Linked DNA regions of Homo sapiens: all the other regions are linked to region 4. Evidence: promoter capture Hi-C in 16 types of primary human blood cells and fetal thymus (Javierre and others, 2016). All regions are on one chromosome and are shown on one strand. The core of a region is centred on a gene start or on the middle of the fragment in contact, and the rest is flanking DNA. Distances in the headings are between cores, read along the strand shown. Region 1 overlaps UBAP2L (ubiquitin associated protein 2 like). Region 2 holds the start of S100A6 (S100 calcium binding protein A6). Region 3 holds the start of S100A16 (S100 calcium binding protein A16). Region 4 holds the start of CREB3L4 (cAMP responsive element binding protein 3 like 4). Region 5 holds the start of SNAPIN (SNAP associated protein).

The links. Contacts are between HindIII fragments. The CHiCAGO score rates a contact against its expected background, and 5 or more counts as called.
Region 1: a contact is called between a fragment that was not itself captured here and the fragment with the promoter of CREB3L4 in region 4, in 1 of 17 cell types (total B cells). The highest score is 5.9, in total B cells.
Region 2: a contact is called between the fragment with the promoter of S100A6 here and the fragment with the promoter of CREB3L4 in region 4, in 1 of 17 cell types (M0 macrophages). The highest score is 5.2, in M0 macrophages.
Region 3: a contact is called between the fragment with the promoter of S100A16 here and the fragment with the promoter of CREB3L4 in region 4, in 2 of 17 cell types (total B cells and erythroblasts). The highest score is 6.8, in total B cells.
Region 5: the fragment with the promoter of SNAPIN here is called in contact with the fragment with the promoter of CREB3L4 in region 4 in 16 of 17 cell types (total B cells, naive B cells, erythroblasts and 13 more); the score reaches 13.4 in total B cells.

What each region holds. Positions count from the first base shown.
Region 1 is chr1:154,229,575-154,232,826 of GRCh38, reverse strand. The region is part of intron 4 of UBAP2L (ubiquitin associated protein 2 like); the gene reads right to left. Among named protein-coding and RNA genes, the nearest start is that of UBAP2L, 10 kb to the right of the region's middle. The HindIII fragment of the contact is 3,253 bases long and covers 336-3,252 here.
Region 2 is chr1:153,534,424-153,537,279 of GRCh38, reverse strand. It overlaps S100A6 (S100 calcium binding protein A6), which reads left to right and starts at 1,289. Exons shown (of 3, transcript NM_014624.4): 1 at 1,289-1,331; 2 at 1,920-2,078; 3 at 2,450-2,681. The coding sequence starts at 1,941. The coding sequence ends at 2,584. S100A5 (S100 calcium binding protein A5) reads left to right here. Exons shown (of 3, transcript NM_001394232.1): 3 at 1-133. LOC124904423 (a long non-coding RNA gene) reads right to left here. Exons shown (of 2, transcript XR_007066630.1): 2 at 1-2,376. RefSeq lists an enhancer at 664-1,299. The HindIII fragment of the contact is 28,060 bases long and covers 1-2,856 here.
Region 3 is chr1:153,611,702-153,614,504 of GRCh38, reverse strand. S100A16 (S100 calcium binding protein A16) reads left to right here and starts at 1,368. Exons shown (of 3, transcript NM_080388.3): 1 at 1,368-1,553. S100A14 (S100 calcium binding protein A14) reads left to right here. Exons shown (of 4, transcript NM_020672.3): 4 at 1-250. The HindIII fragment of the contact is 6,157 bases long and covers 1-1,845 here.
Region 4 is chr1:153,966,213-153,969,151 of GRCh38, reverse strand. It overlaps CREB3L4 (cAMP responsive element binding protein 3 like 4), which reads right to left and starts at 1,250. Exons shown (of 10, transcript NM_001255978.2): 1 at 988-1,250; 2 at 453-630; 3 at 1-222. The coding sequence starts at 626. It also overlaps a transcript of SLC39A1 not described here. RefSeq lists enhancers at 984-1,103, 1,134-1,243, 1,454-1,673, 1,108-1,964 and a silencer at 992-1,493. The HindIII fragment of the contact is 4,469 bases long and covers 189-2,939 here.
Region 5 is chr1:153,657,376-153,660,233 of GRCh38, reverse strand. It overlaps SNAPIN (SNAP associated protein), which reads right to left and starts at 1,531. Exons shown (of 4, transcript NM_012437.6): 1 at 1,348-1,531; 2 at 1,050-1,096; 3 at 668-786. The coding sequence starts at 1,490. RefSeq lists an enhancer at 1,686-1,765. The HindIII fragment of the contact is 14,460 bases long and covers 1-2,858 here.

The DNA.
Region 1 (3,252 bases), core at 713-3,212, 260 kb before region 4:
CACTTGAAGGCTGAGGCAGAATGATCACTTGAGCCCAGGAGATTGAGGCTGCGGTGAGTCGTGGTTATGTGACTGTACTCAGTCTAGGTGACAGAGTAAGACCCTGTCTCAAAAAGTATATAAAAATAAAAATAAAAGAAGACCAAACGACAGTCGCAGCCCTGACCCCAAGAGATACTGATTATACAAAGCCTTCCATCCAGGTTTTACTTGCAGTGTTCTCCCTATATTTCCTAAATTGGTATCAGCCAATTTAACTTTCCCCAGTGAAAAATACATATCTATGATACATTCCTAACTGCAAGAGGGAAAGTCTGTGGTAAGGAAAATAAGCTTAACACCCTTGCAAAACACTCTTCCTCAGGAAAATGAGCATTGTAAACTTAAAAGTTTTTAAAAAAATGCATACCTTGATTTACACATATTTTTGTAAAAAACCTGTACAAATGGAACTTCCAGGACAAACACCAACACTATCAGATTTCTTTCCTTTTTTTTTTTTTGGAAACTTAGTCTCACTTTGTCACCATGCTGGAGTGCAGTGGTGCGATCTCGGCTCACTGCAACCTCCGCCTCCCAGGTTGAAGTGATTCTCCTGCCTCAGCCTCCCAAGCAACTGGGACTACAGGGCACCACCAGGCCCAGCTAATTTTTGCATTTTTAGTAGAGATGGGGTTTCACCATGTTGGCCAGGATGGTCTTGATCACTTGACCTCGTGATCCGCCCGCCATGGCCTCCCAAAGTGCTGGGATTACAGGTGTGAGCCACTGTGCACAGCCTCAGATCTTTATTATCTTACCATCAAACTCAATCATGGCCCTAGTGCTCAGTAACAGCTACCTAATGTCTAATCACTTTCAGAATATGGGCTGAGTATTAGATAATACAAAATTATTAACCTTATCAGGATTGATAATAGTATTATGGTAATGTAAGAGTATCCTCCTTTAAGGGAAGCATGTTGAAGAACTTAAGGGTATCAAGTATTATGTCTACAACTTCCAGATAATTCCAAGTGTCCACTGATGAGTAAACAAAATGCCACATATATGTACAACGGAATATTAGCCTTAAAAAGGAATGAAATTCTGACCCATGCCACAATATGGACGAACCTTGAAACATTACACTAAGTGAAGTAAGTTAGACATACAAGGTCAAATATTACATGATTTCACTTACATGAGATCTCTAAAACAGGCAAATTCATAGAAATAGAAAACAGGGCCGGGGATGGTGGCTCACACCTATAATCCCAGCACTTTCCGAGGCCAAGGAGGGTGGATCACTTGAGGCCAGGAGTTAGAGACCATCCTAGGCAACATGGCAAAACCCTGTCTCTACTAAACATACCAAAATCAGCCAGGTGTGGTGGCACACACCTGTGGCCCTAGCTGCTTGGGAGGCTGAGGTGGGAAAAACGCTTGAGCCCAGGAGGCAGAGGCTGCAGTGAGCCGAGATCTCACCATTGCACTCCAGCCTGGGCAACAGAGCAAGACTCCATCTCAAAAAAAAGAAAAAAGAAAAAAAAAAAAAAGCCAAGTGTGGTGGCGCACACCTGTTGTCCCAGCTACTAAAGAGGCTGAGGTGGGAGGATTGCTTGAACCCAGGTGTCCATGGCTGCAGTGATCATGCTACTGCACTCCAGCCTGGGTGACAGGGCAAGACCCCATCTCTTAATTCATTTGTTTTAAAAAGATTACCTACCCAAGACTTGGTAGTTTGTTGCTGCCTACTCTTCCAACCCAAGCCTATTATACATTACAGTTAGTGGGTCATTTTATGCTCACAGTAAGTTAGAACAACCCTGTAGCTAAATATACACCAGGAACACTCTGGAAGCTAGACTCAAAACAGCTTTTAGAATTTATGCTGCTATCTCAAAACCTGGCAAGTTTCAGGAAACTGTAACCTTTCTCCCTCCTCTGTATGCACATCTGTTGCTGGCACAAGATGGGTCAGGAGAAAGAATTACTATTATCTTCCCAAAGGCGACTTCAGTTTTCTGAAATGATCTCACCCACCCAAATACATCCAATATCCCTGGGAGCTGACTTTGCTTCCCATTGGTTTCACTAGTAGCTAGTTTATTCGTAACATAAACCTATATTCTCCAGCTTATTTTCCTTTTTGATACTGTATAACATCAGCCTTATAGCACTAGACAGAAGATGCTGGAAGGTAAGATAAAATGTGATTTGCGAAAAAACATTCAGACTTTTAAAAAAACATAAATAGCCCCACCTGATTCCCCCCATAAAATCTGGAGACAATTATTCTAGAGTAAACCCAAAACAAATCAAAAGCATATCTTGATTGGCCAGATAGTAAATATTCAAATAAGGTCAACAGTGTAAAATTTAATCCAGGATAACACTTTTGAAGAAAAAACCCACCAATTTAAATTCAATTGTTTTTAAAAGTTTTCCATTATTATTTCCCATTGTCTCAAAGAAATTGACAAACCTCCTGCATTTAGCTGGAGTGACTCTGTAGTATCAGAAAGCTGTTGTATCTGAGGCCAGGTTTCATGGCTCACGCCTGTAATCCTAACATTTTGGAAGGCCGAGGCAGGAGGATTGCCTGAGCTCAGGAGTTCAAGACCACCCTGGGCAACATAGTGAAACACTGTCTCCACTAAAATACAAAAAATTAGCCAGGCATGGTGGTGCATGCCTGTAGTCCCAGCTACTCGGGAAGCTGAGGCATGAGAATTGCTTGAACCCAGGAGGCAGAGTTTGCAGTGAGCCGAGATGTACTCCGGCCTGGGAGACAGAGAGAGACACCGTCTCAAAAAAAAAAAATTAGCTGGGTATGGTGGTGAATGCCTGTAATCCCAGCTACTCTGGAGGCTGAGGCACAGGATCACTTGAACCTGGGAGGTGGAGGCTGCAGAGAGCAGGTTCACGCCACTGCACTCCAGCCTGGGCAACAAGAGCAAGACTCTGACTCAAGAAAAAAAACAAGTTGTTATCTGTAAGGATGAATTTTGATATCTATTCCAACCAAAGAGCCCCAGTATAAGACCCAATAAATGAAAATGATTTCAAAATAATACACTGGGCCAGGTGCGGTGGCTCATGCCCATAATCCCAGCACTTTGGGAGGACGAGGCGGGCAGCTAGCTTGAGTCCAGGAGTTTGAAATCAGCCTGAGCAACATGGAGAAACCCTGGCTCTACTAAAAATGGGAAAATCAGCTGGACATGGTGGCCCATGCCTGTGGTCCCAGCTACTCAGGAGGCTGAAGTA
Region 2 (2,856 bases), core at 40-2,539, 430 kb after region 4:
CCCTCACCCTCCACCCTTTGCTGCTGACCTCGGCTGCTCCTCTCACAGACCCTCTTTGGCCCCCTGCCCTCCTCTCCCTCCCAGATGGACCCTTCCATGGGAGGAAATAAAGTTTCCATCGCAGGTGCTGGGAGTCTGGTTTTGAAGCTGTCTTGTCTACCTTGGCCTGGGGAGAGGGGAGCACAGGAAGGGTCTCTCCTTGAGTGGGTTGAGACAGCTTCTGCCTCTGGGGGTTAGGGTCCTGGGCTCCCACTGCATTCCTCTCCTTCTTTGGTGTGGACGTCATTGGTTTTGTCATGGCTTAGTTTTGCCTGCCTGGAAAATGGGGAAGTTAGGCCAGGCGGGAACTCTGCAAGGATGCAGAGGAAGTTAAGAGGGAAAGTTGCTTTGAGAGGAGGACACTGGGAGGGGTTGGGAGTGGCTCCTGAGGGCGGTGATAGGCAGGCAGGCCTGACTTGTCCACAGCTCACCGGAGGCCACCTTGGCAGCACCTGTAGGAAGGGCATGTCTGGCCTCCACACCAGCCCCCTCCCTCTTCACCATTTCCCCTTCAATAGCACCACTCTCATCATCTATGGGGGACAGTGCTTTCTTCTCTCCCTGCCTCCTCCATCAAAATCTTTTCTCAGGGGAGGGTCTGAAAAGGCCTTCACTCCCCCGTAAATAACGAATGGTGCTTACAGGGCTGGGCTCCCACGTGCATGCACATTAACACCAAAGGTGCTGTAGTGAATGGAATTTGGGGCACTGAGGGGAAGGAGTGGAGGTGTTGGTAGGAACTTGTTGCTGGTGGGGGATGGGCGCCGTAGATATCCTTTACACCACTGGCTACTCCCCCTATCTCCTCTGGGGTGACCCTGAGTATCCTCTGTGGGACACCGGCATCCTGTGAGGCGCCCTCCTTGCCCACATTGACGCTGCGCTGGCTCGAGGGTCACATTCACGGTCTGGCAGAGGAAGCAGGGGTGACCGCCGCAGTCCTCCTCCTGCTCCCCTTGCCGAGTCACGTGTCACGAAGAGCAAACTGAGCAAACTGAGCTGCGCAGATGAGGGGAGACTCGTCACCAGGCGTGCAGTGGGCACTGCTGGGCTCCCCCATCCCGTCCTAACCCGGAACAGCCCCGGGCAGGAGGCGTGGAAAGTCGAGGGGGTAAACCGCGAATGTGCGTTGTGTAAGCCACGGCGCAGGGTGGGGCGCGGGCGGGACTTGGGCGGGCGGGGTGGGCTTGGCCGAGCTGGCCTCCGGGGCACCGACCGCTATAAGGCCAGTCGGACTGCGACACAGCCCATCCCCTCGACCGCTCGCGTCGCATTTGGCCGCCTCCCTACCGGTGAGTTCTCTCCAGGAGCCCTGGGTACTTTCCAGGGCCAGCTGCCCTCACGCTGGGGGTCCAGCCATCCCCTGCCCAGTTCAGCCGCTGGATCCAGACTGGGGCCATCTGTGGCGCTCCCCCGCTGGAGGGATAGTCAGGAGCAGCAGTGCTGTGCCAGGCAGGCCTTGGGCTAAGGGATCGCAATGGGGTGTGCTCTTTTGGGGTGCGGAAGGGAGTGCCCTGGGTGTGTCATTGCCACCATGTGTGGCCCTGTGAAGCTGTGTTTAAGCTGCCTTTGCAGCCTCCATTCCCCTCCCCTGCCCAGCCATACTCCTCAACTTCTGGATCCCCTGAAGGACAGTTCTCAGCTGTGCCCAAAGCTACTGTTCCTATATGCTTCTTAGAATCCTTAAGCCACCTCTCTTGCCTTGGCCCTAGTGTGCTCTCTCCTTCCCCTTCAAGCCCTGGGCTGTCTCCTGATGCCATTGTGTGTGGCCTGAGACTGGGTGGTTCCAAAGGAGGCGGGGCTAGTGCAGGCAGCATTATTGGGGTGTGTGGGTGAGAAGTCCTTGCTCCCATGGCACTGACTAGGCCCTCTGCTGCCAGCTCCAAGCCCAGCCCTCAGCCATGGCATGCCCCCTGGATCAGGCCATTGGCCTCCTCGTGGCCATCTTCCACAAGTACTCCGGCAGGGAGGGTGACAAGCACACCCTGAGCAAGAAGGAGCTGAAGGAGCTGATCCAGAAGGAGCTCACCATTGGCTCGGTGAGTGGCCTCCTCCCCAGGACCCCTTTTCCCACCCTTGTCCTTTGGAAGCAGGATTAGGGGAGAGAGAGGTGCCAGGTGCATCTGACTCACATTTACCCACATTCTGAGGCCCTGGTCCACATGTAGACCCTGAGCTGTAGACCCACTCTCCCAGCGGGTAGGGGATGCTTCCAGCCGGATATCCATCTCTCCAAATGAGGACCAGTAACTGAGAAGTAGCTGAGGAGAAGCAATGCCAAAGTGACATGGGTCCTTGGTGATGAGGGAGCACAGAGCCACTTGCAGAGAGGATTGCCTGGGAGGGGGAAGGGGAAGAATCCAGGGTTGTCATCACCACTGAGTATGGATTTCACATTCTAACACATTAGAAGCTGCAGGATGCTGAAATTGCAAGGCTGATGGAAGACTTGGACCGGAACAAGGACCAGGAGGTGAACTTCCAGGAGTATGTCACCTTCCTGGGGGCCTTGGCTTTGATCTACAATGAAGCCCTCAAGGGCTGAAAATAAATAGGGAAGATGGAGACACCCTCTGGGGGTCCTCTCTGAGTCAAATCCAGTGGTGGGTAATTGTACAATAAATTTTTTTTGGTCAAATTTACCCTTGCGTCCTGGCTTCCGAATGATTTCTGTTCCTCCTTGGCTTAGTGGGACACCAGCCATTGGAAGATTTGCTCACGGTCAACCTCTGAAAATGACTCATTGACTCGCCAGGCCAGAGGACCCACCCTGACAAGGCTGCCTCTAGCACATAAGGTGCCTTTATGTGAATGAGG
Region 3 (2,803 bases), core at 119-2,618, 350 kb after region 4:
CTTCCTAATCTCTTCCCCAATCCAAACCATAGCTGTCTGTCCAGTGCTCTCTTCCTGCCTCCAGCTCTGCCCCAGGCTCCTCCTAGACTCTGTCCCTGGGCTAGGGCAGGGGAGGAGGGAGAGCAGGGTTGGGGGAGAGGCTGAGGAGAGTGTGACATGTGGGGAGAGGACCAGCTGGGTGCTTGGGCATTGACAGAATGATGGTTGTTTTGTATCATTTGATTAATAAAAAAAAATGAAAAAAGTGAAACATGTTGTCTTGACTGGACACCCCCTCCCTGAGGGTCCACGGGTGAGAGGAGCTTGGGGGTGAAAGGCAAAGTCATTGGTAGGGTGGGGCACGTGGGGCTGGAGTGGTTGGCTGTGGAAGTGAATGGGGACTCACTTTTCCCTATGGGTTTGGGTTGAGGGTGGTACCAGGTCCAAAAGGGCAACATGGTCCTCTCTGAGGGACAGGCTCCTCTTTGCCAATGGGCGGGCCCTCTTATAGGAGAGGAGGGTATGTGTGCACACTTGGGGAAAAGGATATTAGTCCAGGTGTTCTGAGCCCTGGCTGGCACAACCAGGGAAATGGGGTGGGTGGGGGTGGGGGGCGGTTAGAAACAGGCTGACTGGCCTGAGTTTGAATCTCAGATCTGCCACTTATCATTGGAATTTTGGGCATGCTCTTAGTATCAGTTTCCTCATCTGTAAAATGGGGGATATGAATATTACTTCCACAGGATTGCCAGGAGGACAATGCCACACATCATGTAAAGCACTTACAGAGAGCCTGACACATGGTGAGTGCCCAGTGACCCAATATCATTCCCGCTGGAGTGGGCAAGTGGGCCCCTCTTTGGTTTCAGCTGCTGCCCTAGTGTAGGGAGGTCGAGCTGGCCAGTTTCCTTGGGTATCTTAGGGAAACGGTGGGGTGTGGGGAGTTTCCAGAGGAGTCTTCTGGTGTACATGAGGGATCTTAGGGCTGGGTCTCAGTAGAGCTGATGGGTCAGACTAGAGACAGAAGACCAGGGAGCCAGACAGGTCCCTGGCATCTGCCTTCTGATTTGAGCACAGAAGTCGGGCGTTACTCCTGAAACCCCAGTGGCAAGGAGGTTTCTGTGGCCAGTTAGGCTGGCCTGGAATGTTAACTGAACTTGTCTGTTGGGAGCCCCTGAAACTGGGATCCCAGTGACCCAGGTGAGAAAGGCAGGTGATAGTCCTTCCCTTCCTTTCTCTACCCTGTCAGGTTCTGCTCAGCCCCTGCGGGGCTGGGAGGGTGGGGTTGGGGGAGTGCCAGTTTTCACCACTCCCTCTGGGATGGGGGTAGAGGGGTGTGAAAAAAGGTGTGTATCCCTTTAACAAGGGCCCAACCCCAGGGCCAAGTCAAGAAGGAGCTCAGCCACTATCTCCCCACCGAGCCAGCTCAGCGGGCAGGGCTGGGAGGGAGTGGGACAGATTCTGGGAGTGCAGCGGGGAGGAGTCCCGGCTGGGCTGAGCGCAGGGAGCTGCTTGGCAGTGCCAGAGCCCAGGCCCCAGAGCCCTGCTGGAGAGGAGGCAGACTGAGGCAGCAGGTGAGCACCCTGGGCCCGGCCTGGGAGGTCTTCGGCTGCCGGAGGGCCCCACAGTATTGGGAGGCCAGGAGAAGGGGCAGTGAAGGGGGCCTGGGGAGAGGGGCCTGCCAGAGAGCAGGCAGGAAGATTTTGGTAATTATTAACTTTCTCCCACAGGCCAGTTTAGGAATGGGGAGTCCTGGGGGGTTGGGGGCTGGGTGAGGCCTTTAGAGGGATGGATGGGATGGTGAGACCCCCTCCCTGCCGCAGCAGCTGACGGAGCTCCTCTCCAGGGGCAGAGTATTTGGAAGCTTTGACCACAGCTACTCGATCCTCCCCAAAAGGAGAGGACAAATGCGTGTTGGTCTGGGTTGGGGGTGGTCAGAGCTTGGACACAGGCCTTGCTGGGCTCTGGGAGCTGTGTCCTAGGGGAGGTGATGGGGTCCAGAAGGAACCAGGCAGTTTCCAGGGAGCCTGAGATTCCGAGAAGAGGAGGCGGGGGCTGAGGTGGCGTCCCCTCTACCTCACGACCCAAGCAGACCCCACTGTGTTCCAGGAGCTGTTCCTTGAGAGGGATGATGAGATCTGGGAGGAACCCGAGTGAGGCTGTGGGGAGCCTGCAAGCTCCCTGGGAGAGGGAAAGATAGAGAGAGGGGGGCTGAACCTCGGCAGCTCCTCCACCTCAGGACCCAGGCAGGCCCCGGCTTGAGCTGCTTTTCTTGGCAGAGCCACCTGCACTATGGGAGCCTTCCCCTGCCCAGCCCAGTGGGGATGGTGGTGAGGGCAGGGGTGCTGGGGAGCTGGCTCTGCCTTTCCCCACATTCTAGTAAGTGTTGTTGAGGCTGGGGTAGCTGTGTGTGTGTTGGGGGAGGCGGGGGCAAGATCCACACTGAACTCCTCCAACTTCACTTGCCTGGAAAAATTTCAGAGGCTGGCTTCTTGCTCCAAGAACTGAAGTGAGTGGAAGGGTGATGGGTCACCCAAGCAGAGGGGATCAGGAATGGCCGAGGTCCTTGCTCGGTGTGTGTGTGTGTGTGTGTGTGTGTGTGTGTGTGAGAGAGAGACAAAGAGAGTTAGACGCAGAATCCTGTGAGGATGGTAAGGGGTGAGGCAGGGCCAAGCAGGCCCCACTATGCTCCGGGAGCTGTTCCTGGAGAGGGCCTTGTGGAATTGGAGAAAGAACACAGGAAGGAGCAGAGAATGGAACAGCTGAGGCTGGAGAAATTTCATTTGAAACAGCCTTGCTGATAGAGGTGGCATTGTCAGCCCAG
Region 4 (2,939 bases), core at 1-2,500:
ATTTGGCCCAGTTTCCCCCTGCATCCTCTCCAGGGCCCCTGCCTCATAGACAACCTCATAGAGCATAGGAGAACTGGTTGCCCTGGGGGCAGGGGGACTGTCTGGATGGCAGGGGTCCTCAGAGATGCCACTGTCACTGCCAGGAGATGCTTCTGAGCAGTACACCTCATTGGGATCAATGAAAAGCTTCAAGAAATCTTCAGGCTCACTCTCTTGAAGGCCCTACAGTAGGAAAAGGTTATATATATGTGCAGGGAAGAATTTTGGAAGTCCTCCCTGACTTATGCTTCATTTTCAGTCCTTTCACTTCTTGGGCATGGAGACAGTTATTATACAACTTACGTCTATTTTGGGGGTGGTCTGTTTTCAGACCTGTCTCCAAGTGGGAGCTGAAGCCTCTTATCACAGAGTTGTGTCTCAACCCCACCCCCACTCCCACTCGTCACACTCACACAGCCACGGTCCCCACCGGACTTCCAGCCTTGCAGTCCCTGTTCCTGTAGCCTAGTTACCGGAACCTCTGGAGGGGGGCAGTGGAGTCCCAGCTCCAGGACGGATCCTGTCGAGAAGATATCCTCTGGGGGCTCCAGCCACGCGTCCAGCAGGTCAGGGATTCCGAGATCCATGCTTCTGCAGGAAGGCGTGTGGGACGGAGGGTTGCAGAAACGGAATGATGGCTGCTTACTACCCCCTACAGTTTCTGGGCTCCTCTGCTCCCTTTTCCATTATCCCCGCCCCCCCACTCCTTCCTCACTAGCAAGCCCCCTCACCTGTCCCCTCGATATTTCACCTTCAGCCCTATCCCTCAGGTTTAGACAAAGAGGCCCCCCCCAAGCATTACCTGTTCTGAAGAGCCCAGCCCTGTCAAGCCAGCATAGCCCGTTGACCTCCCCAAACACTACACCTTTTCTTTCTTCCAGGATCTCGTATCCTGGACCTGCCAGCCAAACCCCGCCCCCAGCCTTACACTACAAAAGTGGATGCCACCTTGCCAGGAGCCACGGTAGGGCCGCTGTATCTGGGAGTAGGGGACTAAGAGTCTGAGGGTCCACAAACGGAATTTAAGAAGTAGGTAGCCGCGCCCTTTCTGCTGCAGTTTTCTCTTAGCTATAGTAAATCTTCCTGAGGGTTTGGTGTCTCCTAGCTGAAGAACAGAAAAGGCTGTGACTGGAGCACAGGACTCCTGAATGCCTGTTCTGTAGCCCTCGCTTTTGCAAGAGGGAGATCATGGCAGGGTTGTAAACAAAGGCGGAAAGAGTCAAGAGACCTGCGAATTTACTAGGGCATCCCCTCGCCCACCGCGTGGCGCTCTTCCCAAAGCTGAGTCCTGATTGGAAGCTGAAGACTTAGGTTTCGGAGGGGCAGGACATCGAGCCAATGGCACACTACCCTCTCAAGGCCGCCTCTTCCGTAACTGGTCGGAGACAGTTTGGCTGTTCAGGAGAGTCAGGCCAATGGGGCCGCAGTTCTTTCTTTTTTTTTTCTTTATTCTTATTTTTGGAGACAGGGTCTCGCTCTGTTGCCCAGGCTGGAGTGCGGTGGTGCGATCACGGTTCCATGCAGCCCCCGACCTCCCGGGCTCAGGTGATTCTCCCGCCTCAGCACCGCGAGCAGCTAGGACCACAGGCGCGAGCCACTGCGTCCGGCCGGCGGGACTTATTTGTCAGGCGGGGATTGGGTTCCGCCAGCCTAAAGGGAGGGGTAAGCGCCAGAATATGAATCGCCGGGAAGCTGGGAGAAAGCTCCGGGAAACCCTGAGCAGCCAGGTTTGTCTTCGCGCGCCACGTGACTCGGAAGCTCCGGTTTCACCCAGGCGGGGAGTCAACAGCCCGCTGACCCCAGTGGAGCGGTGATCCTCGCTCGGCAGGCGGCAGGAGCGCGATGGCGGGTTTCCCCGTCCGCAAGCCGAGCAGTGTGGCGTTAATGGAGAACAGCAGCTGTGCGCACACGCTCGCTGCACGCTGCTCATTCACGGAGGGACACGGGGCAGGAAAACTGCAACAAGTTAAAAAGCCTTTTGCGTTTGTTGTCTTATTGTTTGCATACAGTTACCGGGAACATTATGTCCCACACTTGTATAATTTACAAAACGTTTTCATAAAAATTGTTCTCTTCCTTAATCCATAACAGTTCTGAGGCACACACGGCGGGTAATATTTTGCAAATTTTACCTATGAGGAGGCAGATCCATGACTAGAAAGTAGTAATACCAAAACTCAGGGTTGATTGATTATTTTTATTTTTTTGCCTTGGTCTAATGTCTGATGGTCCAGGAATTCACTTCAAGTAAAACAATGGAGGTAAACTGATACAGGTATGGTTTTCAGTAGTATTTCAGAAAAGGGTAGCTGGGTGAGTAAAACAGTAGTTTGGAGTGTGAATCCCAGAACTCAAACTGCTACTAATTATCCTTATGAAGATTTGAACGGGCTAAGGGTAAAAACGGGAACAGGGTCTAGTCAGGCATTTCCATGTTACTCATATAATTCTTACAGCAGATGGAGCTGACAAGTTTGTTTGTTTGTTTTTCTTTTGCTCTGTGGCCCAGGCTGGAGTGCAGAGGCTCGATCTCGGCTCACTGCAAGCTCCGCCTCCCGGGTTCACGCCATTCTCCTGCCTCAGCCTCCCTAGTAGCTGGGACTACAGGCGCCCAGCTAATTTTTTTGTATTTTTAGTAGAGACAGGGTTTCACCGTGTTAGCCAGGGTGGTCTCGATCTGACCTCGTGATCCGTCCACCTCGGCCTCCCAATGTGCTGGGATTACAGGCGTGAGCCACCACGCCCGTCCGAGCTGACAAGTTTAAGTAACTTTCTCAAGGTTACCCTGTAAGTAGCTGAACCAAGATTTGGATGCTTCAGCCCATGTTCTTCACACTATCAACCCACCTTGTGGGGCTTTCTCAGATTTCTTATCTGTCTTTCCCGCTCATATCTCTCCA
Region 5 (2,858 bases), core at 282-2,781, 310 kb after region 4:
CTGGGTAACATGGTGAAACCCTGTCTCTAGAAAAAATACAAAAATTAGCTGGACATGGTGGTGCATGCCTGTAGTCCCAGCTACTTGGGAGGCTGAGGTGGATGGATCGCTTGAGCCTGGGAGGTAGAGGCTGCAGTGAGCCTTTATCATGCCACTGCACTCCATCCTGGGTGATAGACCTTGTATCATAAAAATAAATAGCCAGGTGTGGTGGTTCACTCCTGTAGTCTCAGCACTTCGGGTGGCCAAGGTGGGAAGCTCACTTGAGCCCAGGAGTTCCAGACCAGCCTGGGCAACATGGAGAAACCCTACTTCTACAAAAAAATACAAAAATTAGCTGGGCGTTGTGCACGCTTGTAGTCCTAGTTACTCGGGAGGCGGAGGCAGAATTGCTTGAGCCCAGGGGGCGGAGGTTGCAGCGAGCTGAGATTGAGCCACCGCACTCCAGCCTGGGTGACAGAGGGAGACTGTCACACACACACACACAAGAATGTAAATGGCAGCAACTGAATAGTGAGAATGAGACGAATTTTCCTAGGTATTTTTCAAGTACTGGGAGAAGTGAATTTCCCTTTCCCCAAAGAATTTTAAAATTACAGTGGCTTTCACTGTGTTGAGGACTTACAAAAAAGGGCAAAGAATCACTGTTGGTAAGATATTCTTTTACCTGAGCATTCTGTAGAATGTTGTTAACCAAGACAACGCGTCGCCGGGCATTAAGTAGCTTCTTAACATAGGGGTCAAGATCCAGGGCCACCTTCTGATCCTCATTTATGCGGCACAGTTCTGGGGATGGAAGTAAGGTGCAGCTAAGATCTAACGGCTTATCTCTTGTTCTGAGGGAAAGCAGGCTGGTAATGGGATGGAAAACACTTGCACCCAAACGGGCCACAGCCATTAGAGATTTAAGACATCCCTGAAAGGAGGAGTCCTTTGGCAGCCCTGATGCCCTGGAAGCAAGTGACAGAAACTCAGCCCAGGGGTTGGCAAAAACCTAAGGTCCTGAAAGTGGGCTGAAGAATTCCGGGTACACAGGGATGCTCACTCACCTGTGGCTAGGTTGTCAATTTGTTCCCGGAGCTCTACCTGGCTCTCTCTGCAAAGAGGTACAAGGCCTACAAGGTCAGGCAGTTACCGGAGCTCAGGAAACGAACTCCCCTACGTATTTACCAAGTACTGAGAGAAGCCGGCCTCCGCTGAACCCTCCACCTGCGGCCTTCCCGCCTGTCCTCCCCGCCTCGAATCAGTTTCCTAAATTTATGCCCACTCCCAGCCAGAACACTTTCTTGGCCCCGCCCCTACAAAGCCAGAGAGACAGGCCCCGCCCCCAACTTCCCTCCCGGGCACCTGACGGCGTGTACGTGAGAGTCGAGCTGCTGCACAGCGGGTCGCAGGAACTCCAGCAGCCCTTCGGCGAAAAGGTCGCGGCCTGTGGGCCCCGCCACCGGGGTCCCTGCCCCCGATACAGCGGCGGAACCAGCCCCCGCCATCACGAATTGTCCTGAAGCCCGAAACCTGCCGCGAGGGCCGCCGGGAACCGGAGCCGCGCCGCACTGCCCCGCCCCGTGAGGGGGCGCCCGGGAAATGCTGTCTCCACCAAGACACCGGGGTTTCTGGGAAATGGAGTCTAGCGCGAACCGGGCGGGGAGGAGGGCCAGGCCGTAGGAGTAGAGGCCTTGTGGCTGGTCTTGAAAATCTCCAAAGTTCAGGTTGTAGAAAGGAACCAGTTTTTGGAGTGGATACTTTTCGTTTTCTTTAAAGGTGAAAATAAACGCGAATACCTGCAGTTGTCCATAGCCTTCCCATGTTAACTTTATGAGATAGCCGGGCATGGTGGCGGGCACCCAGCTACTTGGGAGACTGAGGCAGGAGAACCGCTTGAACCCGGGAGGCGGAGATTGCAGTGAGCCGAGATCGCGCCACTGCACTCCAGTCTGGGCAACAGAGAGACTCCGCCTCAAAAAAAAAAAAAAAAAAAAAAAAAGCAACCCAAACCAAACAAAAACAAACCAAAAACAAAAACACTTTATGAGAAAGCCACATTATATTCATAGTATCGTTTTCTATTTCTAAAGAGTTTATTGTGGTTGGTTGTTTTTAAGACAAGGTCTCTCTCTGTCGCCTAGGCTGGAGTGCAGTGCCACCGTCTTGGCTCACTGTAGCCTTCACCTCCTGGGGTCAAGAGGTCCTCCTGCTTCAGTCTCCCAAGTAGCAGGGACCACAGGTGTTAGCCACCATGCCTGACTAATTTTTCATTTTCTGTAGAGAAGAGGTCTCACTATGTTTGTTGCCCAGACTGGTCTCGAACTCCTGGGCTCAGGTGATCCTCCCAACTCAGCCTCCTAAAGTGCTGGGATTACAGACGTGAGCCACCACGCCTGGTCTATTTCTAAAGAGTATATTTTTAATGGCATTAAATATGTAAAAAACTGCATGTATCCGAATTTCATTCCTTTTTAAGGCTGAATAATATAAACATGCAGGCAGGGCATGGTGGCTCACTCCTGTAATCCCAGCACTTTGGGAGGCTGAGGCGGGAGGATCACCTGAGCCCAGGAGTTCGAGATCAGTCTGGGCAACAAACCTAGTGAGACTCTGTCTCTACAGGAAATAAAAAATTAGCCAGGCGGCCAGGCGCAGTGGCTCACGCCTGTAATCCCAGCACTTTGGGAGGCCGAGGCGGGTGGATCACGAGGTCAGGACATCGAGACCACGGTGAAACCCCATCTCTACTAAAAATACAAACAATTAGCCGGGCGCAGTGGCGGACTCCTGTAGTCCCAGCTACTCGGGAGGCTGAGGCAGGAGAATGGCGTGAACCCGGGAGGCAGAGCTTGCAGTGAGCCCTGATCGCGCCA